5 separate regions of the Homo sapiens genome follow, and all the other regions are linked to region 1. Evidence: promoter capture Hi-C in 16 types of primary human blood cells and fetal thymus (Javierre and others, 2016). All regions are on one chromosome and are shown on one strand. Each heading gives the region's core, a stretch centred on a gene start or on the middle of the fragment in contact. The rest is flanking DNA. Distances are from core to core; before and after follow the strand shown. Region 1 holds the start of COP1 (COP1 E3 ubiquitin ligase). Region 2 overlaps ALDH9A1 (aldehyde dehydrogenase 9 family member A1). Region 3 has its middle 75 kb from the start of PTGS2. Region 4 holds the start of LOC127814295 (a long non-coding RNA gene). Region 5 holds the start of ALDH9A1 (aldehyde dehydrogenase 9 family member A1).

Region 1 (5,309 bases), core at 1,354-3,853:
GGAGGCCGAGGCGAGCAGATCACCTGAGGTCAGGAGTTCAAGACCTGCCTGGCCAACATGGTGAAACCCCGTCTCCATTAAAAATACAAAAAATTAGGCAGGTGTGGTGGCAGGTGCCTGTAATCCCAGCTACTACTCGGGAGGCTGAGGCTGGAGAATTGCTTGAACCCGGGAGGCGGGGGTGGCAGTGAGCCAAGACGGTGCCACTGCACTCCAGCCTGAGTGACAGAGCAAGACTCCGTCTCAAATACAAATTTTTACTCTTTTAAAAAAAGAGTTCCCAATTCCCTATAGCATAGCCTGCAGTGCACTGAACTTCATATGGTGCCTGGCCGACAGTGAATGTCATACAAGTATCTCTTGAATGACAATGATCGATTCCTTATTCCTCACATCTTTTACTTTATTTTAGTGTACTTACACGGAGGCTAACATGTTTGTGTTCGTTAAGTATACTAAAAATTAAAATGCAAACAGTGGCTAAAAAGACAACTAAATTATGCACACCCCACTTTGTTTTATTAGCTTATTAGCTACTCGCACTATCGACTGTGTAGAAGTGCAAACACTTCTCAGCCCCAACCATAAACTGCTTATTTATAAATAACAATCATATTACAGCCCAAATGTTCAATGAAAAACAGATTAATTCTGATAAAGAATAACGTACAAAAAAGCAGAAAGGTGAATAAAGACATCATTTTTCTGCAGGAACTAGAAACCGTAAGTCTAATCAATAACTTTCCTAACAGTTCCAACTTCTAGCTCTATCTTATTTAATAACACCAACTCAGACCATCTTCAACCCTGATCTGAATCAACTTCCCTCATAATGACTGTGCAAGCAGCCAACTTCCTACATGCCTAATATTTGATCAACAATTTCCTCAAAAAGGAAAGTACGAAACACTACCACTTCTTAAGCAGCTAGCTAACAGCAATTACTTCTCATAATCCTACCAATATCTAAAATCCAATAAAAATTCCAAAACACTCTCAAGCAAGACAATCAACACCACCTTTCACTTCATATGACTAACCTCTCTATCCCAAATGTCATGACTAAATGTTACTCTGTATCATTCAAGATGCCAACTATGACGACAAAATGTCTATACCTAGCATTTCTCAAGTCAGAAGTTCCAGTATACTCTGTTATCCAGTATAGTACAGTTACATCTGACACAGGGATGTTATTTAACAAACGTGGTTCTCTCTTTTCAAGACACTTGGTGGAGAAGTGAAAAATCTGTTAACAGACTTTGACTACAGTCGTCTCAACAGCCGATTCCTAAGTGGCCCATCCTTTGAAATGGAAGAAGATATTTACACATACATACGATAGGTACTTACATTATTATAAAAAGCATGTCTTTATAAGACATCCATGCTTATGTTTACAGCATCATCTACCATACTTCAAATAAATTTTGACCAACTCCACCCCTCTGCATCCGAGGAAGCTTAGTCCTCTCCATTTGCAAATTTCATTCATCTCAACAAGGACTCCTGATTGACTGAGTGTTCAATTCATCAGAGAGGCAAAAATTTTAAGACTCAACCTCTCTGCCAACTTTGTTATCCAAAACCATTTATTTGACCTTCCACCTCTTCCCTCGTCATTCGTTAAACTCCCTTCACTTCCTCCTCAGCAACACTTACCTACCTCTTTATTATCCCCACCCTGCCTCGCTACTCCAACATTCCTTCACCCCACCAACCAGGAGCTCGAATGCCTGCAAACGCTCGATTCCCTCTGCAGACACCACCACAGCACCAGTATCCCAAGCTCTCCAACAAGCCACCCCCACACCAGACCCCCCGCCCCCAAGCCTAAGCGGCAGAAACTCATAATTTAGGGACAAGGAGGGAGTGCTCTTCAAACCCACCATACGAAGTCGTTGCTTTTGTCCTCGTAGGAGTTGATGAGCCCGTTGCAGAGGGGGGCGAGGAGAGGTCGCTTCCTGCTGCCGCTGCCTAGGCTGGAGCTGCTGCCTCCTACGCCGGCGCTGGGCCTGGCCGCGCAGCTGTGCCGGGACAGGCCCGTGGACACCGCCCCGCCGCCGCTACCCGATACGGCGGGCGCCACCAACACAGGCCGCACCGGGCCCCCGAGGCCGCCCGAGCCGGCGGCCTGGGCCACCCCGCCGGACACCAGCGCTGCCGCCGAAACCGCCACGGAAGGCGGCGACGGGGAAGAGGATAAAGACGAGGAGGCGGAAGTCACCGAGGAGGCCGCCGAGGACCCGGGGCTTGTCCCAGCGGAGCCCGACCCGGCCTGGCGGCTACCAGACATCGTGACTCCCTCCCCTCCAGCCGGGCGCTCGGAGGAGAGGGACCGCGACCTCGACCCTCCGCCGCCTCCCCTCCCCTCAGCCTCAGTGCATCCTGAGGACGCCCGCCGAGCCGGAGGTGGGGCTGAGGAACAATAAAGTTGCGTTTTTTTTTAAGGCAGCCACACAACAGCGTCCCACGGGAGGGGGCGGAGGAAACTAAAAAAGCGGAGTAGAAGGCACTACCGCTGTCGAGGCCGCCGCCGCCACCGCGGTCCCTGTAGCAGCCAACCCCGGCGCGCCGTGGCCGGCCGTGCGCGCGCGCGCGAGCGGCGGAAGAGGCGGGCGTGGCGGGGGATACAACTGGGGACGCAGCGGGGCTGCGCTCAGACGCTCAGGGCGCGCCCTCGGGGTCGGGGCTCCCTGGCGAAGGGAGTCTGTCTGTCCCAAGCCGCTTTCGTTCCAGAAAACGTGCCAGAGGGCAGGCCGTCTTAATACAGTGAAAGAATTGAGGAGACTGGAATGAATGGTATAGGTGGTGGGGTGGTTTGAAAGACGGGAACGTAGCGGGCGGAAACTCTCGAAAAGCGACTGCGCAGGCGCGCGCCGGGCGCGGACGCTCACGGGTCACCCAGGGTATCCGCCCCAAGCGGAGAATATCGGCGCAAGCGCGGAGTAGCCGTGTCACGCATGCGTGCGAACGCACCACATTCCGGAACGGGAAGAAGGAGCTGTCTCTCTCTTCTGAGGGGTAGGCAGGTGCTTCCGAATCGCGGAATGTAGGTGCTCATAAGCTGGAGACCCACGGAAAGAACCTAGAAGCTCCGAGCGGTTGCAGACAGCACTGCATTGAGCCAACGACTCCTGCTCTACTGATGGTGATTCCACAGCTTTGTGAGGAATAAGTTAAGATGAAGTCAGTGAAGTTTTCTGCGAATTGCAAACATTGTAGCAAGTGTTACCAATTTTATTAGTTCGACCACGACTTCACTCCTATATTTTGAAAAGCTGTTTGCCAAATTGAACATAACAATAATGGGAAAACAGATTTTGCTCAATCAGACCCAGCTCAGTCGGAACCTAGGTTTATTGTGGATCTGATATAATTCTAGCACAAAACAAGGAAACCTAGCATTTAATACCACCAGAAAATATACAATTTCTGGTAGGCTTTTTTAGAATATTGAAAATTGATTATAGGCGGGCGCGGTGGCTCATGCCTGTCATCGCAGCACCTTGGGAGGCCTAGGGGGTCGGATCACCTGAGCCTGGAGGTGAGGATCAGGCTGAACCTGAGGTTAGAGACCAGCCTGGGCAAGATAGCGAAACCCCGTCTCTACAAAAAGTACAAAAAATTAGCTGGGCATGGTGGCAGCAGGCCTGTAGTCCCAGCTACTCGGGAGGCTGACATGGGAGGATTGCTTGAGCTGGGGAGGTTGAGGCTGTAGGGAGCGGAGATCCCTACACTCCAGCCTGTGAGACAGAGACCCTGTCTCAAAAAAAAAAATTTTTTTCATTTGCCGCATTCTAAGGGGTGGGAGTTAGAAACAACTGTGTGATTTTATCCTTTTCAATTCTATCATTCTATGATTCTTATATATTTATTTGGGAATAAAGTGTGAAAATACTCATGACTTAGTAAACTACGTGCGTATTCAAGGAGGTAAAGGAAGGCAAAGGTTTTTAAAATTTAAAAAAAAATGAGAATTACATAATTGTTTTTAAACCGTTATCCTTGGCTACGAAGATCAATAACAAGGTGACACCAGTCGGAAACTGGACAGGAAGTTGCTGGGCAGATGTTTTTGCGGAAGTATTTTTTGTGTAAGATTGTGGCTTTTGGCCAGGTGCGGTGGCTGAGGCCCATAATTCCAACACTTTGGGAGGCCAAGGCGAGTGGATCACCTGAGGTCAGGAGTTCGAGACCAGCCTGGCCAACATGACGAAACCCTGTCCCTACTAAAAATACAAAAATTAACCGGGTGTGGTGGCATGCACCTGTAATCCCAACTACTCGAGAGTGTGAGGCAGGAGAATCGCTTGAACCCAGAAAGCGGAGGTTGGAGTGAGCCAAGGTCGTGCCACTGTGCTCCAGCCTGGGCAACAGAGCAAGACTCCATCTCAAAAAAAAAAAAAAGATTGTGGCTTTTGCAGGTTTTTGTGATAGTTTTTGTCATCAGGTGTGCAAGCATGAGACCCCTTCTCTTCATGACCTCTGAATCTATTTTTCAGTGTTTTAAAAAATATATTAGTGACTACCTCCCACCCCCTTTTGTTTAAGAGATGGGGCCCCCCACCCCCTTTTGTTTAAGAGATGGGGCCCCCCACCCCCTTTTGTTTAAGAGATGGGGCCCCCCCACCCCCTTTTGTTTAAGAGATGGGGCCCCCCACCCCCTTTTGTTTAAGAGATGGGGCCCCCCACCCCCTTTTGTTTAAGAGATGGGGCTGGGATGCAGTGACTGTTCACAGGCAAGTCTATAGCACAGTACAGCCCCCAAATTCCTGGGCTCAAGCAATCCTGCTGCCTCAGCCTCCCAAGTAGCTGGAACTGTAGGTGTGTACCACCGAGCCCATATAATTCCATTTTGATTACGACAGCTTTCACGGAAATTAGGCATTAAGTAGGGTAAAAACATTTATAATGTTTTAAAGATTAATTTTTTAGGAGATTAATCTTTCAGAAGAGGTGGGAAATTAGGAACAAAGACTAGGAAAAATTAAAGCAGTTCGAGCGTAAATGATAAGATTCTAGATTAGGATGGTGACAAAGAAAGGGAATATTCTGAGAAAAACACTAAGGAACTGATGGTATAAAGTTTAATTACTCTCTGTAAAACTGTCTTTACCATCCTTGAGAGTATGACCCATATCTGTCATATTCATCACTGTCTATATCAGTGCTTGACACAATGGTCAATATGTTGATTAAGTAAAAATGATGAAACACAAACAGAAATGACTCCAAACATGACTTCTGGGTAACAATAACGTAGTGACAAGATTGGAGGTGTCCAGTAGATGGTTTAGTTTTGAATG
Region 2 (5,014 bases), core at 1,016-3,515, about 11 Mb before region 1:
AACCTGGGAGGCAGAGGATGCAGTGAGCCGAGATCGTGCCACTGCACTACCGTCTGGGGGACAGAGCTAGACTCCGTCTCAAAAAATAAGTAAGTAAATAAATAAAAATAAAAAATAAATAAATAATGATAGTATTGGATTATAACACATAGAATGAAATAAGAATCCATGGGTCCATACTGATATAAATAAATGAATGGAAAACAAACAGGGGTGAAGGGCAAGTTCTTTCTTACAGTAGAAGGTGAACAAATATAGAAGAAATGATGGAATTGGAAAATCACCATTTGCAACCCCATAATAAAAATTGTTTTCAGCAAGAATCGTCAGTGGTGATAGAAGTATTTACTGCATGAAAGTTTGATGAGGAACAGGATAGTCTCAAAATACCTCCTACAAGATCTTATTAACCACAAAGTAAAAAACAGTAACTTTACAGTGAGGACTTACCTTAAAGCAAGTGATCAAAGTTAAATCACCACTGAGTAGGATATGACATCATGTTTGTGGTATTTTTGCCAAAAATTCATAATATGAATCTAACAGAAAACATCAGACAGACCCAAACTAAGGAACATTCTACAAAATGAATGGCCTGTTCTCCCAAAATGTCAACGTCCTGAAAGACAAGAATAACTGAAGAACTGTTCTCAGCTAAAGGAGATTAAAGACAAGACAACTAAAGGCAATGCATCATCCTTGACTGGATCCTAGACCGGAAAAAAAACCATTTTTGTTCTATTTTACTATGAGGACATTAGTCAAACAAGTGGCAAAATTTGAATAAGGGCTATAGATTGAGTAAGGGCTATAGATTCAGTAACAGTACTATATCAATGTTAATTTTTTAATTTTACTAAGTGTACCGTGCTTATGTAAAAGAATGCACTTGTTTTTAGGAACTTTATATTTAGAGGTTAGGGGCCTTATGTCTACAATTTACTCTCAAGGTTCAGAAAAACTTAATATGCCTACGTATGTACAGGCAGATAAAGAAGATGATAAAGTGAATCTGTTAAAATGTTAATATTTGAGAAATCTGGTTCAAAGGTACATGGGAATTCTTTGTACTATTTGTGCAACTTTTCTGTAAGTCTGAAAGTATTGTAAAACAAAAAGCTTTAAAACACACTGTTGGATGAGGGGGTAGAGATTCCTTTTACACCTCTTCCAGGGACAGGTACATACCTGGCCTTGTGTGAGGAAGTTGGCCATCAGCGCCCCCTTTACAGCATTGTTCATATCACAGTCTGAGAAGATGATGAGTGGAGATTTGCCTCCAAGTTCCAAGGTAACAGGTTTGATTCCTTTAGCTGACATCTCCATGATCTTGCAGAACAAGGACAAGGTATTCAGAACTTTAACACAAATTATATTGCATGCTAAGTCAACTAGGCCCTGAACCTACAAAATCATCTTGAACTGTTTGTGACCTGTAGCCTTATTCTTGTCAATATCCTTTGCCTTTTGGCTATTAAAATATTCTATTCCAGAAAACTGAAGAGAATCCACAGAGTTGCACTGACATTAGAAGAGGGAGTTCATTTAAAAAATATTGTCCCAGCCTGGGCAACATAGCAAGACCCTATCTCTACAGAAAAATAAGAAACTTAGCCAGGCACAGTGGCACATGACTGTAGTCTCAGCTTCTTAGGAGGCTGAAGCAGGAGGACTGCCTGAGCCCAGGAGTTGAAGGCTGCAGTAAGCTGTGACTACACCACTATAATCCAGCCTGGGCAACAGGGTGAGACCCTGTCTCAAAAAAATAAAAATAAAAAATATTGTCAATTCACAGGATTGTCATAGCCAGAAATTCTTTTGTGTTATTGTTACTGTGTTTAAGGCTGACAGAGTTCAGAACACAAATTAATGTCAAAATAATGGATCTGAAATAGCCTGAGTAAAAATCCTTTCTTCTATACAAGAAATTAAGTCACTAAACAATACAAGTGGCAGCCCAGGCCCCTGTCCACTAAGACACATCCTCTCCTTAGGCTGGGGCTGTTAATTTCCACCCCTACCTGGCCTAACACAAATCACCCCATGTGTACTCCCTTTCCCCCTTCATACTTTTACAGGAAATTTCACACCTCTGCCTAATAAAATCTCCTTCCCATTCCCAATTCAGGCTAGGTAAAATCAAAAGAGAAGCCTCCAAAATATACTCTGGGTAGGACCGGATTTGCCACATCCAAATGCCATGTGTGTTGACCAATACTGGTTTTGTCCTCACCTTCATGCCAGTGGGCACACTTCCAGTGAAGGAGACTTTGGCCACATCGGGATGCTGACACAGAAACTGGCCTGTGGCAGCCCCTCCCTGCACCACATTGAAGAGCCCAGGAGGTACACCAGCCTCACTGTAGATTTCAGCCAGTAGCAATGCAGAAACAGGTGTAAAGGGAGAAGGTTTAAAGACCATGGCATTACCTGCATAAACCCAAGACACAAACATAAAAAGACTTTCTAAGACCAGTGATCCCCTGAAAACAGGACTAGAGGACAATTCAAAAATGATTCCAATTGTTTCCTCTTCCCCAACCAAATCCTACATCAAAAATGTTATTAATAACCATATTAGTTTGTTTTCATGCTGCTGATAAAGACATACCCGAAACTGGGAACAGAAAGAGGCTTAATTGGATTTACAGTTCCACATGGCTAGGGAGGCCTCAGAATCATGGCGGGAGGTGAAAGTCACTTCTTACATTGGCGGCAGGAGAAAAATGAAGCAGCAGCAAAAGCGGAAACCCCTGATAAACCCATCAGATCTCATGAGACTTATTCACTATCAGGAGAATAGCATGAGAAAGACCAGCCCCCATGATTCAATTACCTCCCCCTGGGTCCCTCCCACAACACATGGGAATTCTGGGTGATACAATTCAAGTTGAGATTTGGGTGGGGACACAGCCAAACCATATCAATAAGTAAACAACTCTTGTCCTTTTCATCTTGGTTTCTCTCATTAAACAGATCCCAAACCCTACAGTTGCCCAGTCTCACATTTGCATATCTAGGCCTTTTCACATATATTATCTCATTTAACACTTTCAACAGCAGTATGAAGTAGGTATCATTAGCTCCATTTTATAAAAGTTGACATTGAAGACCAGAATGGTTCACTTGATGAGAGTCCCCAAAGCTAGTGACTTAATTCTGGTGACTATTAAAGCTAGTGACTATTTTTCCTCTTTCACAGCTGTATCTCAAAGAGAAATAGGCTAAAACAAGAACATGCAATGGCAACAGGACAAAAGCTGCATTTCAATATAATGTCCTAACAGTAATGCTTTCTAACATTACAATTTTTTCTAAGATAAAATTAGTCTTCTTTCCTCAAAGATTCTTCTCTTTAAATACTGTAAGAAAACTATTTTATGTCAATCAGCCAAAGCTCCTCTTTGATAAGAAGCTTATCAAAGCCTTGCTTATCATTTCTCTTAAGACCCAAATGAAGAAAGGAGTTTATCTTCTGCTTCGTAAATGAAGTCAAACTCCTAAGTGCTAACTCCTACCTTAAAATTCTTGTCCAGAAAGGAAGAGAACTTATAAGTAGCACAAATCTAATTCAATTTAATAAGAAAAAATTAAATTTCTTTTCATATACAAAATTAAATAAATAAAACCTGAGAATATCTAGACATGATTGTGTACAACCTTAACTATAAGCTCCTTGAGGGGCAAGACAGGGCAGGAACGAGCCATGTCCTCTGAGGCTTTGAATATCCCAGAGCAGGCCCCTTCCGATTTAAAGTGTGTGTTTATAGAGAGGTGAAAGGTAGAGAATGGGGAGAGAACGAACGAGAGAATGAACGAATGGCTCTCAAATGGAGGGATAATTCATTCTTACCACAGGCTAATGCTGGAGCCGACTTCCAAGAGGCAATCTGAAAGGGGTAGTTCCATGCTCCTATTCCCACACATACCCCAAGTGGTTCTCTTCTGGTATAACCAAACGATCCACCTGGGAGCTGGATGTGTTCACCTATGGGGAAAACAGGAGTAAAGGAGGATGCAGGTCTGTGCTCCCCAAGATTTCACCAACATCTGTACCAGTCTGACTTGTACTCCAGTCAACGCAGCCTCCCCACTTCTCCCAATACACCAGGCTCACCCTGTCTCCATTCTTCTATTTGTTCCAGGCAGTCTTCCACTGGCTTCCACGTATTCTCTCCACATAGAGAACCCTGCCTATCCTTCAAACACATGTTCATCTAACTTGATTTTACAACTCTCTAAGAATTTACTGAGCCTCTATTAGATAGCTTAGATGAAACAAAATGGAAATGAGAGGAACACTCAACAGCAGGGGAAGCATGTAAGTTCCTTGCAACCTTCCTAGGCCCTACCAACCTTCCAATATCAATTGTTGAAAACTTTATACACTGTCAAAAAAAAGTTTGCTAAATAGATAAAACTGGTAAATATGACAAACCGATTCTTATGAAAACTGGTTTTTCAGCAATTTGGTCTAAAGCTCAGGTATCATGCTAGGTGCTTTACATGCACTATCTCATTTAATCCTTAACCCAAGAAGGTAGGAATTATTATCTCCAGTTTAGATTAGGAAAGATAAAGTAATTCCCAGGCCACCCAGGTAGAAAGTGACAAACCCAAGACTTTCACCCAGGTTTGTCTTAATTCCAAAATCTTTGCCCTTCACCACTAGGCCCTGCTCTTCTGCCTCATTATCAGCTGGTCACAGACACCAGGTGAGGACTTACCAGCCATGGATGCAGCCAAGCCCGCATAATACTCCAGGCACTGCCAGGAAATGTCAATGTCCAAGCGGGCCTCAAAGATGGACTTGCCATTGTTGATGCACTCCATAGTAGCAATTTCATCCTCCCGTTCCTTTGGGTAAAGCAGAAGACTAGATTTAAGACATATTCCAATATGTCTTGATGTAATTAATGCTTAAATAGAACACACTGCTCAATTTTTAAAACTAAAAATAGCTTTCACTTTAAATGAAAAGAAATGGCAGTGTTACATTTAGAAGAGAGATAAA
Region 3 (5,040 bases), core at 1,534-4,033, about 10 Mb after region 1:
GTCAGGGGTACATGTGAAGGTTTGATATATAGGTAACAATAACAATAGTTATTTCTTTCATTTTACTAATTTTGGGTTTGGTTTGTTCTTGCTTTTCTAGTTTCTTGAGATACATCATTTTCTTGTTTATTTAAATCCTTTCTACTTTTTTGACATGGACATTTATTTTTATAAACTTCCCTCTTAGTACTGCCTTTGCTGTGTCTTATAGGTTTTGATATGAGGTGACTCCATTTTCATTTGTTTGAAGAAATTTTCAAAAATTTCTTCTGAATTTCTTCATTGACCCATTGGTCATTCAGGAGCATATGGTTTAATTTCTATATATTTGTTAGGTTTCAAAAGTTCTTGTTATGGATTTCTGGTTTTATCTCATTGTGGCCAGAAAAGATACTTGATATAATTTTGACTTTTTTGAATTTACTGAGACTTGTTTTGTGGTCTAACATATGATCTATCCTGAATAATGTTCCACATGCAGTTGAGAAGAATGCATATTCTGTATCAGAAGGAGAAAATGTTCTTAAAATATTACTTAGGTCCATTAGGTGTAGAGTGTAGTTTAACTCAAATTTCTTTTTTTTAAATTTTATTTTATTATTATTACACTTTAAGTTTTAGGGTACATGTGCATTGATTTTCTGTTTGGATAATCTGTTCATCATTGAAAGTGGGTTGTTAAAGTCCCCTACTATTATTGTATTATAGTCTATTTCTCTCCTTAGATCTATTAATAATTACTTTACATATTTGGGTGGTCTGATATTGGTTGCATATATATTTACTACTGTTTATGTAATGAACTTCTTTGTCTTTTTTTACAGGTTTTGCCTTAAAACCTATTTTATCTAAGTATAGGTAGCTCTGCTTTTTTCTTTTTTGGCTTCCATTTTTGCACAGAAAATCTTTTTTCATCCCTTTACTTCCAGTCTATGTGTGTGTGTATATATGAGGTGAGCTTCTCATAGAAAGTATATAGTTGGGTATTGTTTCCTAATCCACTTAACCAGTCTATGTCTTTTAATTGGAGAATTTATTGCATTTATATTCAATGTTATTATTGATAATAAGGACTTACTACTGCCATTTTGTTACTTGTTTTCTCTTTGTTTTGTAACTTTTCCCTTCTTCCACTCTCACTGTTTTCCTTTGTGGTTAAGTGATTTTCTCTGGTAGTATGTTTTAATTGCTTATTTTTATTTTTAGGATATTTATTATAAATTGTTGCTTTATGGTTACCACGAGGCCTATAAAATCATCTTATAGTTATAACAAGTTTTTTATCAGCAGATAACTACTTCACTTTGATCATAAAGTAAAGAAAAGAAGCAAACACAAAGAAAAACTTAAAAACTTTGCACTTTAACTCCACCTCCCCATATTTTGGCTTTTTATTCTCTCGGTTTACATCTTTTCATAACTGCATCTTTCTTAACAAAATTTTGTTGTTATTATTGTTTTGATAGCTTTGTCTGTTAGTCTTCATACTAAAGATATGAGTGATTAACACACCACAATTACAGTATTAGAATATTCTGAATTTGTCTCTATACTAACTTTTACCAGTGAATTTTATATCTTCTGATGTTTTCCTGTTGCATGTTAGCTTCCTTTCAGACTGAAGAACTCCCTTCAGTATTTCTTGTAAGACTGGTCTGGTGGTAAGTCATATCCTCAACTATTATTTATCTCAGAAAGTCTTTATCTATTTTTCATGTTTGAAGGCTAGCTTGCTAGATACAGTATTATCATTTGGCAGTTTTCTTCATTAAGCACTTTGAATATATTATCTCACTCCTTCCTGGGTATGATTTCTGCTGAGAAGTCTGTTGCCCAATGAACTTGAGCTTTTTCATATGATGTTGCTTCTTTTTTATTGCTGATTTTAGAATTCTCTCTTTGACCTTGACCTTTGAGTGTTTGTTTATTATATGCCTTGGTGTAGTCTTATTTGGGTTGAATCTATTTTATAATCCTTTATAATCCTTGACAATCCTTGACTTTTCTGTACTTGCATATTTATATTTTTCTCTAGGTTTGGAAAGTGTTACTGTATTATCTCTTTGAATAAGCTTTCTACCTTTTGCCTCCTTCTCAATTCCCTCTTAAATGCCAATGACCCTTAGGTTTGCTCTTTTGAAGCTGTTTTCTAGACCTCGTAGGCATATTTCATTTTTTAAAAATTATTTTTTCTTTTTTCTTCCCTGTGTGTTTTTAAATACCCTATCTTCAAGCTCACTGAACCTTTCTTCCACTTGATAAATTCTGCTGCTGAGACCTTCCAATGAATTTTTCAGTTCAGCCAAAGTATTTCTGAGTTCTAGGATTTCTGTTCTTATTAAAAATTATTCTAATCTCTTTGTTAAATTTCTATGATAAATTTCTGAATTGTTTTTCTCTGTTATCTTGGAGTTCACGGAGTTTCCTCAAAATTACCATATTGAATTCCTGATTTGAGAGCCCACACCATTGCTCCATTGCCTATCACCGGATCTTTGCTTTGTCCATTTGGGGAGGTCATGGTTTCCTGTTTGCTGTTGTTTCTTACGGATTTACATTTCTGTCTTTGCACTAAAGGTTTAGCTATTGATTCCAGTCTTCACTGTCTGGATTGCTTTGGTCTTTCTAGGCTATGCATGTTTAGAGGTTCTGTGTGGTTTGCATGTTGAGTTCCCTTAGCCCCGGACTGCTGCCTCCTTTTTGGCACTAGATGGTGCCCTAAGTCCAAGTTTGCCACAGCTCTCAAAAAAGTTTGGAGAACTGCCTGTGTCAGATGGGGGGCTGTGTGGCAGGAGGAGTCCCAAAGGAGATTCCTTGGTTGTGTGTGGAGGCTGGGTAGAGTTTTGTGTCCTGAGGACCCATGAAGAATGCCTCCTAGAGCCCGGTGCTGCTGAACTGCTCTTCTGGTTTGGTGTCTCTTTTTGCTGAGCTGAAGAGCAGCCCTACATTTTGCACCCTGGGATTGCTATCCCTTCTCCACTCTCTCTCTCTCTCTCTCTTTTTTTTTTTTTTTCAGTCTAGCCGCCTTTAGGATATTTCTCTCTACAGGCACTTGTGATGCTTCTTGAGTTGAGGCAGAAATGGCAGTCCTGCTAAGAAACCCAAGATGGTGGGGAAGCCTGCTGTCTTGCCTGCCTTGATCTCACTTTTTCCATTGGTGAAACCCTAAGTCTAGGGGGACTTTTCCATGTAGTGCCTGGCAACTTAGGTAGGGGAGGCATATCAAAGAAACTGAAGTTCATTTCTCTTACTTTCTGCTTGTAGTTTTTCACTTTTCTGTGGTCTCAAAAATCATCAAAAGGCCCAGTTCTTGGTTACTGGTGATGATAATCTAGGTACTGGATAGTTGTTTTTGGTTTTCTGTGGGGAACACTGAAGCTAGATTATTTCTATTCTCCCATTTTGACGACATCACTCTTGAGAATACAACTGTCATTTATTAAGCCAGACATTAATGAGATTTACAAAATGCATCACAATGCCTCTCCTCTCACTAAGCTTACTTTCTTTCTTTCTTTTTCTTTCTCTCTCTTTTTCTCTCCTTCCTTCCTTCCTTCCTCCCTCCCTCTCTCTTTCCCTCTTTCTTTTCTTTTTCTCTTTCCTTACTATGGTCTAGCCTAGCACTTCTGGCCTCAAGCAATCCTCCCACCTTGACCTCCCAAAGTGCTGGGATTATAGGCATGAACCACCACATCCAGCCTTACTAAACATTTTTTGTTTAGGTAAATGCTTTTAATAAAATATAGTATTTTAAAAATATGTTATTTATACAAACATGCAATAAATGTATTATTTTTATTTTAAATGAATTAGAAAATATATTTTAAATATTTCATTTTAATTTCTAGTATAGTAAATATATATACACAAGTTTGTGTGAGTGCATCCCACATAAGCAAAAGCATTTTAAAATGTATTCAATAATTTTTAAGAGTGTAAAAAAGCCCTTAGACCAAATTTTGAGAACTACTGATATACTTCATAAATTTTACATGCATTGTTTCAATTTAACCTCAAAAAACAGATTTGTGAAATAAACAGGTCTAATCTTATATCTCATTCTGAGTTGTTTAATGCTTTATCCTCAGTGCTTGAACAGCGCCTGTATATTCTAACTGCTCAATAATATTTGTCGAAAGAACAAATATAAGGAAACCAAGATAAAAACAAAAGTTATTGAGATGTGTTTCACAACATGAATACCCTTAACACTATTGAAATGTACACTTTAAAATGGTTAAGATACAAAATTATATGTCTATTTTTTAACCACAAATTAAAAAAAAAAAAGAAAAGAAAGATATTGGGTAAGGTTAGAGTTGAGAAGACTTTTCACCTTGTGTGATATGTGGAGATAAGCATTATTACCTGAGGTTAGATCCACAGACGCTTTGGCAATAGTCTAATCAAGCACTACAAGAGGCAATGGGCTAAGCTTATTATCATGTTCTTGTGCAAGGATTCTCAAGGCCTGATTATTTCTTTCAGGTACAAATAGGGTGAAATGTTTTTAGTAACTGGGCAATCCCAAAGCAGGGAGTTTTTATAATGCCTGTTTTAATTTTACAACGTCCTGGTTCATGTTTTTCTTCCCAAGAAAGGGGTTCAGGGACTAAGTGTTTAGTGAGTTCATACAGTAAAGACCCTAAGAGGGGAAAACTAGAGACCCCTTGATGACAACATCTAATTAAACCTAAGAACCTGGAAAGTTTCTTCTTAGTTACCAACCTAGGAAATTCCTGGGAAAGCTTAACTAGCAGACACCAGATCTGGATGCCTGCGGCACTCAGATCATGTCCTAAATAGTGAACAGCATCTATTGATACTTGTAATTTGTCTCTGGAGACCTTAAGTCCCTTTTCTGCTAACTGCTATAATAAATAGAAGGAATCCTGCTGGGATGCCTCCTTAGTAAGTGAACAAAGTGAGATGTCATTGGTGTATTGAAGGAGTCAACCCTCTAGGAGACTGGAGGATGCTCAAGTCTCGACAGAGTACTTAAGAGAAATAGAAGGGGGTTTCAATGAACCCCTGAGACAT
Region 4 (4,884 bases), core at 904-3,403, about 13 Mb before region 1:
CGGTGTAGGTGGGGGTGGTAGTAGTTATGGCTGAAAGCAGTGAGATGAGATAGAATTGGGAGTACAAATGAAAGCAAAGGACAAATTAGAGTTTGAAGGGCTCGTGAGCCTCCCGAAAGTCGGAACTTCAAGGAACAGGTCAGGAATAGCAGTAGTTTTAGAATCCATGAGCAAATAGGTTAAAACAATGAGTGGACAGTGCTCACAGGGAAGATACAGACAGAAAACAACTCAAGGTTGGAACTTTGGGAAATACTATTTAATGGGTAGGCAGAGAAAAAAAGACCCCCAAGAAGCATGAGACAGGTAGAAAAAGATGGGAGAAATGCAAAACGAGTTTCAAGGAGGGTTTAATCAATGATACCAAATGCAAAAGAGAGGTCTAGAACAAGAAACAGTGGTCATACATTGGTGGAGGAAGTACATTTCATTTTCTGAGACAGACAAATAAGACAGGTGGATATATGTGGCATTGACAGAAGTGGAGAGGGAGGAAGTTATATATTGTATGATGGCTTTAATTTTCTCAATTAACTGGGAAAAAAGTACTGGGATTGTGTGTGGCCCCTATGGAATCTCTATTCATAAGAATGGGTGCCTGATGGGAAGTAGAGTGTAGGATCCAGTCTTAGTATTTCACCTATTCCTACCACATTAGACCAAGTGAATCAACTTTTTGTCCCTATTGATCTGTTAAAGTAGAAATAACAATTTGGAAACCCTGTCACTTAAAAAAAGAGATTTGTTTAAAGCACTAGATATCACAGCATCACCACTTGCATTAAAGTCCTAGCTGCAGGCTGCCATGGTCTCTTTGGAACACCCCCATCTTGTCACTCAAAGGTCCACTCAGTCCTGATAGGTCTGTCATCCAGAATTTAAAGTGCAGTCTAGAAAAGGAACATGAAATTAAAATTAGAAAGGCAATAGACACAACAAATTGCAGATGCATACGAATGTGTTATGTGCTTGAAACACACCTTTAAGACCACTCTGGTCACTTTCTATTAAAGAGAGGAATTTAGGTTGGGAAGAGGAATGAAGAAAGGGTAAAGTTTGTGAGAAATCACTGAAAGTTACAGGACAGGGAAATTACTGATGATAAATTAAAGGATTGTCAGGAATCAGGGAAAGAGCTGAAGATGGAGACTGACAATCTGTCATATATCACTTTGTGTCATTTTCTCCAGTGTTTCCAGCTAAGAATTTATAGACAAGATGCACGGATAAGATTTTGACAGGCACCTGGGTCAGAGGCATCAGACACAGGAAGTTTGGATGCTGATAAACCATGCAGTCTAGGCTGTGAAGGGAGGTATTAGCAGGAGGGCTGTCAGGGAAAATGAAATAGTAGGGCAAATGTAGCACATGTGAGGGTACAAAATTATGATGCTACAATCAGAAAGAATACTAAAGTTTTCTGCAATAGTCTGTGTTTTTATGGGTGATAACAAAACTCTTAGACTAATGTCTAGGTTGAGAATTCTGATGTTCCACCTTCTACCTTACACTGACCAGTATCAGGCAACTAAAAGTTTTAAAAAGTCAGATTTAACCTTCTAATTAAGGTAATTTGAATAAACACTCATTTTTTAAATAAATAATTTACTTCTAATATAACTCAATTTATCACATCAATAGTAATATTAACCCCCAAATAAACAATATTTATTGTTGATATAACAAAATGGTTGTCTTGCTCTTTTCTTCCTTTGCCTCATTTTTCTCTTTCTCCATGGTCCATTCTAATCTTGGCTTTCACATAAATCGCTTGGTTTTTTTTCTAGATTCTCAACGACAATTTAGACATTTGTTGAGCACTTGCCACTTGCAAGGTATTTTCCTAGGGACCATGTATAAATAATAATAGTCAAAATAACAGCTAATACTTTTCAAGTACTCACAATTTTGCCAGGCACTTAATTAAGCACTCTACAGGAACTAATTCACTTAATCTTCATGATACCGTATAAAGCAGATAGAACTGTCACCCTATTTTAAAGATGCAGAAACGAGCTCAGTTAGGTTAAATAGCTCGCCTAAGTCCACCTAGGTAGTAAATGGTGTGATCAGGGATTTCAATCCAACTCCCTTTGACCGTAGAGATGTGCTCTCAGTCACTACGCTATGGTTCCCTTCCCTGCCTCTAAGGACATATAATTTGGTGGAAATTATGCATGTATCAGTAATCAATTTGATTTGGCAAGTGTCAATGAGACAGGTCTCTTTTTTCTGCTTTCCTCACTGACTCTAATATTTTTTTAAAATCTATTTTCTTAATGTCCTTTTGGGTCTTACTAGATTCCGACTTTGAGACTTACATCAGTAAATAGACATTGAAAGGAAAGACAAAAGCCCTGAACTAATGATATGAAATGTATTTTTATTTAGAATTGGTATAGACTTCACTATCAATAGGTTTAGTTCTTCAGGACAGGACAAAGCAGCGGAATTTGTGTCTACATTCAATACAACCTTTCTAGCACTTTTTTCACATAATTCAGTTCAGGTTCCCCATCCAACACACGACTGTCACCAGATGATGCTCTACTCTGTGACCAGATACAAGTCCTATTACGTCTTCTCCTGTCCCAAACCTCAATAAAACTTAATGGCTTTCTCCCCTGACAACCAGGCCTGCCATGGCTTCCTAACTTGTGTTAAATGCAGTGTTTCCACTCTTGCCAAAACAAACAAACAAAATACCATGTAAAAAAATACAGATTTCAGGGCCCCTTATCTGAAGAATGCAACTCACTCAGGAATGTGCAAATTTGGGGAACAGTTCAGAGGTGAAAAGCACTGATCGAAGAGGGAGAAGCTAAAATCAGGAGACCTGGTTTCTACTTTACAGTCCCACTTACTGTATAACTTCTAACAAATCACTTCTCTCTGAGTCCAGTTTTCATATCGGTGAAAGCGAGAGGATTTGACCAGATGAACTGTTATGTTCCTTCCACCTCTTGAAGTCGTGCTTATGAGCACAGAGTCAGAGGATGTGTGTTCATATCCCAGCTATGCTACTTGTGAACTACTGTGCGCAGAGAACTGCATTCTCTGATTCAGAGCCCTCACCTGAGGGGATGATAGTATCTCTCCACTATCCCTTTTCTCCCCTTTAATGAAGTCTAAATGAGATGATGCTTATAAGCATCTAACAAAACCCGGCACATAATCAATGTTCAACAAGTTATTATTACTCTGGAATTCTATAAATTACCTCTGTACTTCCTCCCTTGTCACCCTGAACTTAGTGAAGTTTCCTTCACTTGGTTTTGCTCTTCAACTCGGACCCCGAAAACGCTCTAAACGCTGGCGGAAGTCACGCAGAGATGGGCTAGACGCTCAACCCCGGTCTCTTCCCCGAAACCGCGGTGCTCCCACTTCCTGCAGTCCGAGGTTCCGACTCGACGCCAGCTCCGCGAGCAATGGTTCCGCCCTGCGCCCTGCCCCTTCCATGACAACTCCAGTCCCACCTGCCTGGCGTCTCTTGAGCCCAACCGGCATCCGTCGCGGTTGGACGTGGGCTTGGCGGAATGGGGCGGGACTTCCAGTAGGAGGCGGCAAGTTTGAAAAGTGATGACGGTTGACGTTTGCTGATTTTTGACTTTGCTTGTAGCTGCTCCCCGAACTCGCCGTCTTCCTGTCGGCGGCCGGCACTGTAGGTGAGCGCGAGAGGACGGAGGAAGGAAGCCTGCAGACAGACGCCTTCTCCATCCCAAGGCGCGGGCAGGTGCCGGGACGCTGGGCCTGGCGGTGTTTTCGTCGTGCTCAGCGGTGGGAGGAGGCGGAAGAAACCAGAGCCTGGGAGGTGAGGGGCGGGCCCGTCGTTACTTTTTATTTGATGTTAGTCCCAGAAACAACCAGAGCTCAGTTCCTACTAAACTAACGGGTGTTTTCTGGTGCAGCATAGACCGAAGAAGACGAGCTTGAGCTGAAATTGTTCAAGTTAGGCATACATTTATGTGTGATTTTTGGAAAGGCGGTGGTAATGTGGTTTATTTGGCTGCAGATGCTTGTCAGCTTTTTACACATCTCCGTTGCCAAACGTTTCTTAACCAAATCCAAAACCATGAATGAAAAGGTAAAAATATCACACCTAATCCAAAATTCAAAGGAAAAGAGCAGCGCATATATAGCACTACGCATGCATAACGCCATCATTGTTCCTTTTAAAAGTTCAAGGAACGTTTTACTTAATTCATTGAAGTTGGGAGCCATTTCTGTTTATTTTTGTTTAATCTCTGCCTCGTGGAACTGTGATGTCCACAAATAGTTTATTTTAACAAAACGAAGTGTGTAAAATTTAACAGAGTACTTTTAGTACCTACTCACTCTGCTCAGCATCGTGGTGCTGCAAATAAATGAGAAACCAGATGAGTAATTATAGGTTAATCTTTGCTACTCGTTAGACAGAGTATTACTGCATATATATTAAGTCATTTATATACTTTATCCCACCTAGGAGCTCAAACTATGTAGTTGGAAAGTGTCTTCATCTCTCGTTAATGAATAAATTGTAACTGAAATTGTACTTCGAAAGAATGATAGAATTTGGATATTGGAGGAGGTTCCAAAAGGAAATACTGGAAGTTTGGGAAAGTTAGGAGACTAACTTGGAGCAGAAATTTCATTCAATTATTAAAGGGTTTAGAAGCCTAGCAGAAAAATTTGAATTTGATGTGGTGGGTAAGGTGAGTAATTGAAGTATTTTCATACAAATATTATATGATGCGTTAAGTGTTTTTATAAGGATTAATCTGATAGCAGAGTGCCAAACATTAGAGAAGAGAGGAACAAGTGATAATAATTATGAAGATACTTTACACCTACGCTTTCTATTGCAATACTCTCTAATTCAGATGCAGCTTTTTTGGAAAAGTG
Region 5 (5,380 bases), core at 1,755-4,254, about 11 Mb before region 1:
CGATCTCGGCTCACTGCAACCTCTGCCTCCTGAGTTCAAGCGATTCCCCTGCCTCAGCCTCCTGAGTAGCTGGGACTACCAGTGCACGCCACTACGCCCAGCTAATTTTTTGTATTTTTTAGTAGAGACCGGGTTTCACCATGTTGACCAGGATGGTCTTGATCTCCTGACCTTGTGACCCACCCGCCTCAGCCTCCCGAAGTGCCGGAATTACAGGCGTGGGCTACCGTAACTTCTTGTTTTTATGTATGGTTTGATTTAGTGACCATCTCTATACTAGCAGGTTTTTTTGTTTTGTTTTTTTGTTTTTTAAGACGGAGTCTCGCTCTTGTTACCCAGGCTGGAGTGCAATGGCACGATCTTGACTCACTGCAACTTTTGCCTCCTGGGTTCCAGCAATTCTCCTGCCTCAGCCTCCCGAGTAGCTGGGATTACAGGCGCCTGCCACCACACACAGCTAATTTTTGTATTTTTAGTAGAGACGGGATTTCATCATGTTGGCCAGGCTGGTCTTACATTCCTGACCTCAAGTGATTCACCCACCTCTGCCTCCCCAAGTGCTGGGATTACAGCCATGAGCCACCACACCCGGCCTAGCAGTTCTTAACTGTATTTTGCGGTCATTGACATTAGGAGTCTGATAAAAGTTGCAGACCTCTCTCCAGAAAAATCTACTTAAACATATAACAGAATTACAGGAATGTCATGTCCCCTGCCCTAAACTCATCAAGGATTTAGAGTTAAGAACCCCTGCCCTCTACTATTTTACAGTTGAGTTTACTAACATTAACTTCTGATTAAGTTTTGCAACACTCCTAAACATTATCTCAGAATCTCAGGGGTCTTGTAAAATGAAAGTCAAAAGTAATCAGTCTATTGGGTTATAAACTCTGACTGTAAATCCCTTGTCTATATTCTATGTAGGTTATATCATACTACTTGATACTTGATAAATATAGTTAATAAGCAGTAATATCAGGATAAGGCAACCCTAAAGGAACATTTTTTTTTTCTCAAAAATTCCCAGATTTCCTTTTCTTATTCCACCTTTATTCCCTCTCCCTATTCTGGTGCAAATTATGAAACAATCAGTTTTTCTAGGCCCATAGCCCAAGGACTGTACTGCCTCTACCAACAAGAATTCTTTAAGTTTGCCAACTCAGCAAATCCTCTTCACAAGAACTCCTGGGACTCTTTCCAGGGAGATTTCACAAATCTGCAATTTCTGTTACAAACTTGAATAGCCAGCTGGTAAAGGCGGTGGCTGAGGATCACACACACTGTAGGCAATTAAAGCAAAGAGCAATTTTTCTTTCTTTTGTATCAGGATTAAGTCGGGGTAGAGAAGCTGTTTCCTCCTATATAAAGAAGAGATGTGATAATGCCTTCTGGCTCTGCCAAGTCACTGCTCTGTGGTTTAGTGTGGATGGTCAAATACTAAATTCTCCAGTCCCCTGCAAATCAGTTTTATTGCTCTGGCTACATTTTACACAAAATATTTACATTTTTCTCCCCACATATATTCCATAAAACCCAGCAAAATAAACACAACACAAAACCAAAACAAAAAGCCCCTTCTTCCTTATCTCTGTGACCTTCAGAGTTCCCAGAGTAAATCCAGTGCCTAGCACAGTGCTTAGCACACATTAAGCACTGGATTAAAAAGTTTTATTTCAGCAAGATGAATAAATTGTGGAGAGCTCACGTAGACCATGGTGACTATGGTTACCAATACTGCATCATATACTTGAAATTTGCTAAAAGAATAGATCTTAAATATTTCACTATCCAAAAAAAGCCATTAACTATGCAGAAGCAATGGATAATTAGATTGACCGTGGTAACCATTTTGCAAGGTATACATACATTACAACACGTTTTACACCTTAAGTATATACAATTTTTATTTGTTAATTATACTTCAATAAAGCTGGGGAAGAAAGTACTGAATAAAGGTGGGGTTTTTTCCTTTCCCAATTCTGATTAATGTGCAGAAATATTTTAATATTAGAATGTGGAGACAAAGTCCTCATTCGTAGTCATTAGAAACTATCTGTGAGCGTTCCTTCATTCCCAGCACAAATGATTATCTTCCCCACAACCCCGCCCCGTTCTTTTAGAATTCCTCTCCTATGCACACATTTGAAGACAATAATACATCAGTCCTGGTTTTAAAAGGGGGAACAGTTGGCTGGGCTTGGTGGCTCACGGCTGTAATCCCAGCACTTTGGGAGGCTGAGGCGGGAGGATCACCTAAGCTCAGGAGTTCGAGACCAGCCTGAGTAACATGCTGAAAACCCGTCTCTACTAAAAATACAAAAATTAGCCGGACATGGTGGTGGGAGCCTGTAATCCCAGCTACCAGGGAGGCTGAGGCGGGAGAAGCACTTGAGCCCGTAAGGTAGAGGGCGCAGTGAGCTCTGAGATGGTGCCCCTGCACTCCAGCCTGGGCGACAGAGTGAGACCCTGTCTCAAAACAAACAAAAAACAAACAAACAAACAAAACAAACAAAAAAGGAAGTTAACAGAGGCACGACTTCCCCCACCAGTACTTTGCGAACTCTGTTCTGGCCCGGGTAAAACAACTCACGATCCTACCACGCAACTCATCAGCTTTGCTTTTCCTCCCTACCCATCCCTGCCCGGAGGCACTCGCGTTGCCCCAGAATCGCTAGTTGCCTACACACACAACCTTAGACTCTCCACTGTCACTGTCTTGTGCTCAAGTCAACGCTGCAGAACACAGGAAACGGGGGCTGGCCGGGAAATCCGCGCATCCGGCCCCAGGGCGCCCCAGCCTCCCCGGCTCGTTGCAGTTACCGGTTGCTGGCTCGAAAGCTTTCTCGGTACCGGAGGCGTCCGCCGGCTCCACGCGGGCCCCGCCGCGGTAATTGAGCGGCTGCGACACGACGAAGGTGCCAGTGCTCATGGCGGCGACAGGAGAGGGCCGAAGACTGCGAAGAAGCGGGGAGAGCGCGGCCAGGCCTGCTCGGAGAAACATGAGTGGCGGACGCAGCTCCGCGGCAGAGGCTGACGGGCCGCGGGAGGGGCGGGGCCGCGGGAGGGGCGGGGCCGCGGGATCGGTTCTAGGAGATTTTAGGGGCAGTCACTCGATTCCTCTGCGGTCCAGGCCAGGCCCTCCCCTCGCCAGGAGGGTGGAGCAAGACACCACATTCTCCCCACCACCCCGCCATACCCCACACAGTCTCCAGGCGGGAAGAGGACTTCCTTCTTCGTGATCAATATTTGCGTAGCACTTTGCAAGTGTTTTCGGGTTCATCATTGCATGTAAGCATCCTAGGATCCCATTCTTAATCCTATCGCCTGAAGAAGGCAGAGGATTGGAGTGCCAAGAGTCTTTGGTGGTTACTTCACTGCTAAACCACCGTTTCTGTAATTGTATAATGCTTTTTAAAGGGTGACAGTAAAAAGCAAGGGGACTGTGAACGAGATAGATGATATTGTGATCTGAAACTGCTTTTTAAATTCTTAAAGAGAGACTGGGCGCTGTGGCTCTCACCAAGGCTGGAGGATCGCTTGAGCCCAGGAGTTTGCGGGCAACAGAGAGAGATCCCGTGTCTATAAAAAAATAAAATAAAAATAATAAAAATTGGGCCGGGCGCGGTGGCTCACGCCTGTAATCCTAGCACTTTGGGAGGCCAAGGCGGGCAGATCACCTGAGGTCAGGAGTTCGAGACCAGCCTGACCAAAATGGTAAAACCCCGTCTCTACTAAAAATACAAAAATTAGCTGGGTGTGGTGGCGGGCGCCTGTAATCCCAGCTACTTGGGAGGCTGAGGTGGGAAAATCGCTTGAACCCGGGAGACGGGTTGCAGTGAGCCGAGACTATGCCATTGCACTCCAGTCTGGGTGACAAGAGTGAAACTCAGAAAAAAAAAAAATTATCCAGGTGTGGTGGCACACGCCTGTGGCCCCAGGTACTTGGGCGGCTAAGGTGGGAGGATCCCCTGAGCCCCGGGGGTCCAAGCTTGCAGTGAGCTATAATCGTGCCACTGCACTCAGGCCTGGGCAACAGAGCGAGACCCTGTCTCAAAATAAATAAATTCTGAAGGAGCAATGTAAATGCTATTAATGACAAATATTGATAGAAACAGAAGCCTAACATACAGAATACGAAGAGCAAAGGCCACAGGAAAAAGTGTCAGGAAACAAAATGCCTTCTGTAAGACAAAGCAGCCACCCAGAGGCACTCACAGGTCTGTCAGCTGAGGGATCTTGCACAAAGGTTCATTCTTCTCACCAAACTTCCATGCACCTCCAGTAGAGACTTTGACAAACAGAAAGTAATTGGCAATTTGGACATTTCTTTTAGGATTGTTTCTCTTCTGGGGGCTGCTGTCTTTCTCAATGTTTTTTCCTTTACCTGCCAGCTCACCAGCGCAATATTAGGGAGTGTGGTTTTCAGGTTTAGAGTATATATAATGTATTCTGATCAAGTTTTCTGGCACTCTATACCAGTTTGTTCACTTTTTCAGTGCTACTGAGATGTGTAGGTCTTGGTCCTCAGATGGAAACAGCAGTGCCCAAACTCAGAATACCTGAGGCCACACTCACATATTATTTTATTATTGTCCATTGCAAACAGAATTGAAACATATCAGGAGTTGGTGACGAGCAGCACTATAGATTTCCAAGATCACTGAATGGTCATTTAGGTACAGAAACTATACGTCTCAAATTTTATGGGACAATTTCTATTTAAAAGATTCTGTCCCCAACCAATGCATTTTGACTTGTCACATCATAATTCCTGATGTTTGTTTTGGAAATGTGGTCGTGATGTCTATTGAATTAATTCATAGATGATAAGACTGACAAACCTCTGGCCAGGCACAGGACTCACACCTGTAATCTCAACACTTTGGGAGACCGTGGCAGGAGGATCGCTTGAGGCCAGGAGTTCAAGACCAGCCTGGGCAACATAGTGAGACTCTGTCTCTACAAAATATTTTTAAAAATTAGCCGAGCATGGTGGCACAAGCGTGTAGTCCTGACTACTCAAGAGACTGAGGTGGAGGATTGCTTGAGGCCAGGAGTTCAAGACTGGAGTGAGCGATCATGGCACCACTGCTCCAGCCTGGGCAACAGAGTAAGACCCTTCCCCAAAGAAAACAGATCTCCTCCAAAATATCTACCTTTTAAATATCTAGCTGTTCCTCTTACCTATCTGTGCTTTTATTATTAAATTATTATTTTTAACTTTTAGGTTCAGGGGTACATGTAAAGATTTGTTACATAGGTAAACTTGTGTCATGGGGGTGTGTTGTATAGATTATTTCATTACCCAGGTATTAAGCCTAGTACCCATGAGTTATTTTTCCTGATCCTCTCCCTCCTTCCACCCTTATTATTAGATTAT

Evidence for each region. Contacts are between HindIII fragments. The CHiCAGO score rates a contact against its expected background, and 5 or more counts as called.
Region 2: a contact is called between a fragment that was not itself captured here and the fragment with the promoter of COP1 in region 1, in 1 of 17 cell types (non-activated CD4 T cells). The highest score is 6.0, in non-activated CD4 T cells.
Region 3: a contact is called between a fragment that was not itself captured here and the fragment with the promoter of COP1 in region 1, in 1 of 17 cell types (neutrophils). The highest score is 5.2, in neutrophils.
Region 4: a fragment that was not itself captured here is called in contact with the fragment with the promoter of COP1 in region 1 in 2 of 17 cell types (non-activated CD4 T cells and naive CD8 T cells); the score reaches 8.9 in non-activated CD4 T cells.
Region 5: a contact is called between the fragment with the promoter of ALDH9A1 here and the fragment with the promoter of COP1 in region 1, in 1 of 17 cell types (naive CD8 T cells). The highest score is 6.3, in naive CD8 T cells.

Annotation. Positions count from the first base shown.
Region 1 is chr1:176,204,683-176,209,991 of GRCh38, forward strand. COP1 (COP1 E3 ubiquitin ligase) reads right to left here and starts at 2,604. Exons shown (of 20, transcript NM_022457.7): 1 at 1,890-2,604. The coding sequence starts at 2,296. It overlaps COP1-DT (COP1 divergent transcript), which reads left to right and starts at 2,983. Exons shown (of 5, transcript NR_185981.1): 1 at 2,983-3,189. RefSeq lists silencers at 2,042-2,401, 2,432-2,641 and an enhancer at 3,142-3,211. The HindIII fragment of the contact is 7,879 bases long and covers 1,462-5,309 here.
Region 2 is chr1:165,678,254-165,683,267 of GRCh38, forward strand. It overlaps ALDH9A1 (aldehyde dehydrogenase 9 family member A1), which reads right to left. Exons shown (of 11, transcript NM_000696.4): 3 at 4,728-4,857; 4 at 3,854-3,988; 5 at 2,234-2,430; 6 at 1,189-1,329. Among named protein-coding and RNA genes, the nearest start is that of ALDH9A1, 18 kb to the right of the region's middle. The HindIII fragment of the contact is 2,296 bases long and covers 1,118-3,413 here.
Region 3 is chr1:186,603,229-186,608,268 of GRCh38, forward strand. No RefSeq gene overlaps it. Among named protein-coding and RNA genes, the nearest start is that of PTGS2, 75 kb to the right of the region's middle. The HindIII fragment of the contact is 1,426 bases long and covers 2,071-3,496 here.
Region 4 is chr1:163,318,402-163,323,285 of GRCh38, forward strand. It overlaps LOC127814295 (a long non-coding RNA gene), which reads right to left and starts at 3,334. Exons shown (of 5, transcript NR_182654.1): 1 at 3,221-3,334; 2 at 781-890. NUF2 (NUF2 component of NDC80 kinetochore complex) reads left to right here and starts at 3,553. Exons shown (of 14, transcript NM_145697.3): 1 at 3,553-3,811. It also overlaps a transcript of RGS5 not described here. RefSeq lists enhancers at 3,293-3,502, 3,543-3,772. The HindIII fragment of the contact is 6,415 bases long and covers 1-4,884 here.
Region 5 is chr1:165,695,558-165,700,937 of GRCh38, forward strand. ALDH9A1 (aldehyde dehydrogenase 9 family member A1) reads right to left here and starts at 3,005. Exons shown (of 11, transcript NM_000696.4): 1 at 2,821-3,005. The coding sequence starts at 3,001. It also overlaps the pseudogene CA14P1. RefSeq lists enhancers at 2,741-2,970, 2,814-3,396, 3,261-3,440 and a silencer at 3,001-3,190. The HindIII fragment of the contact is 1,150 bases long and covers 2,837-3,986 here.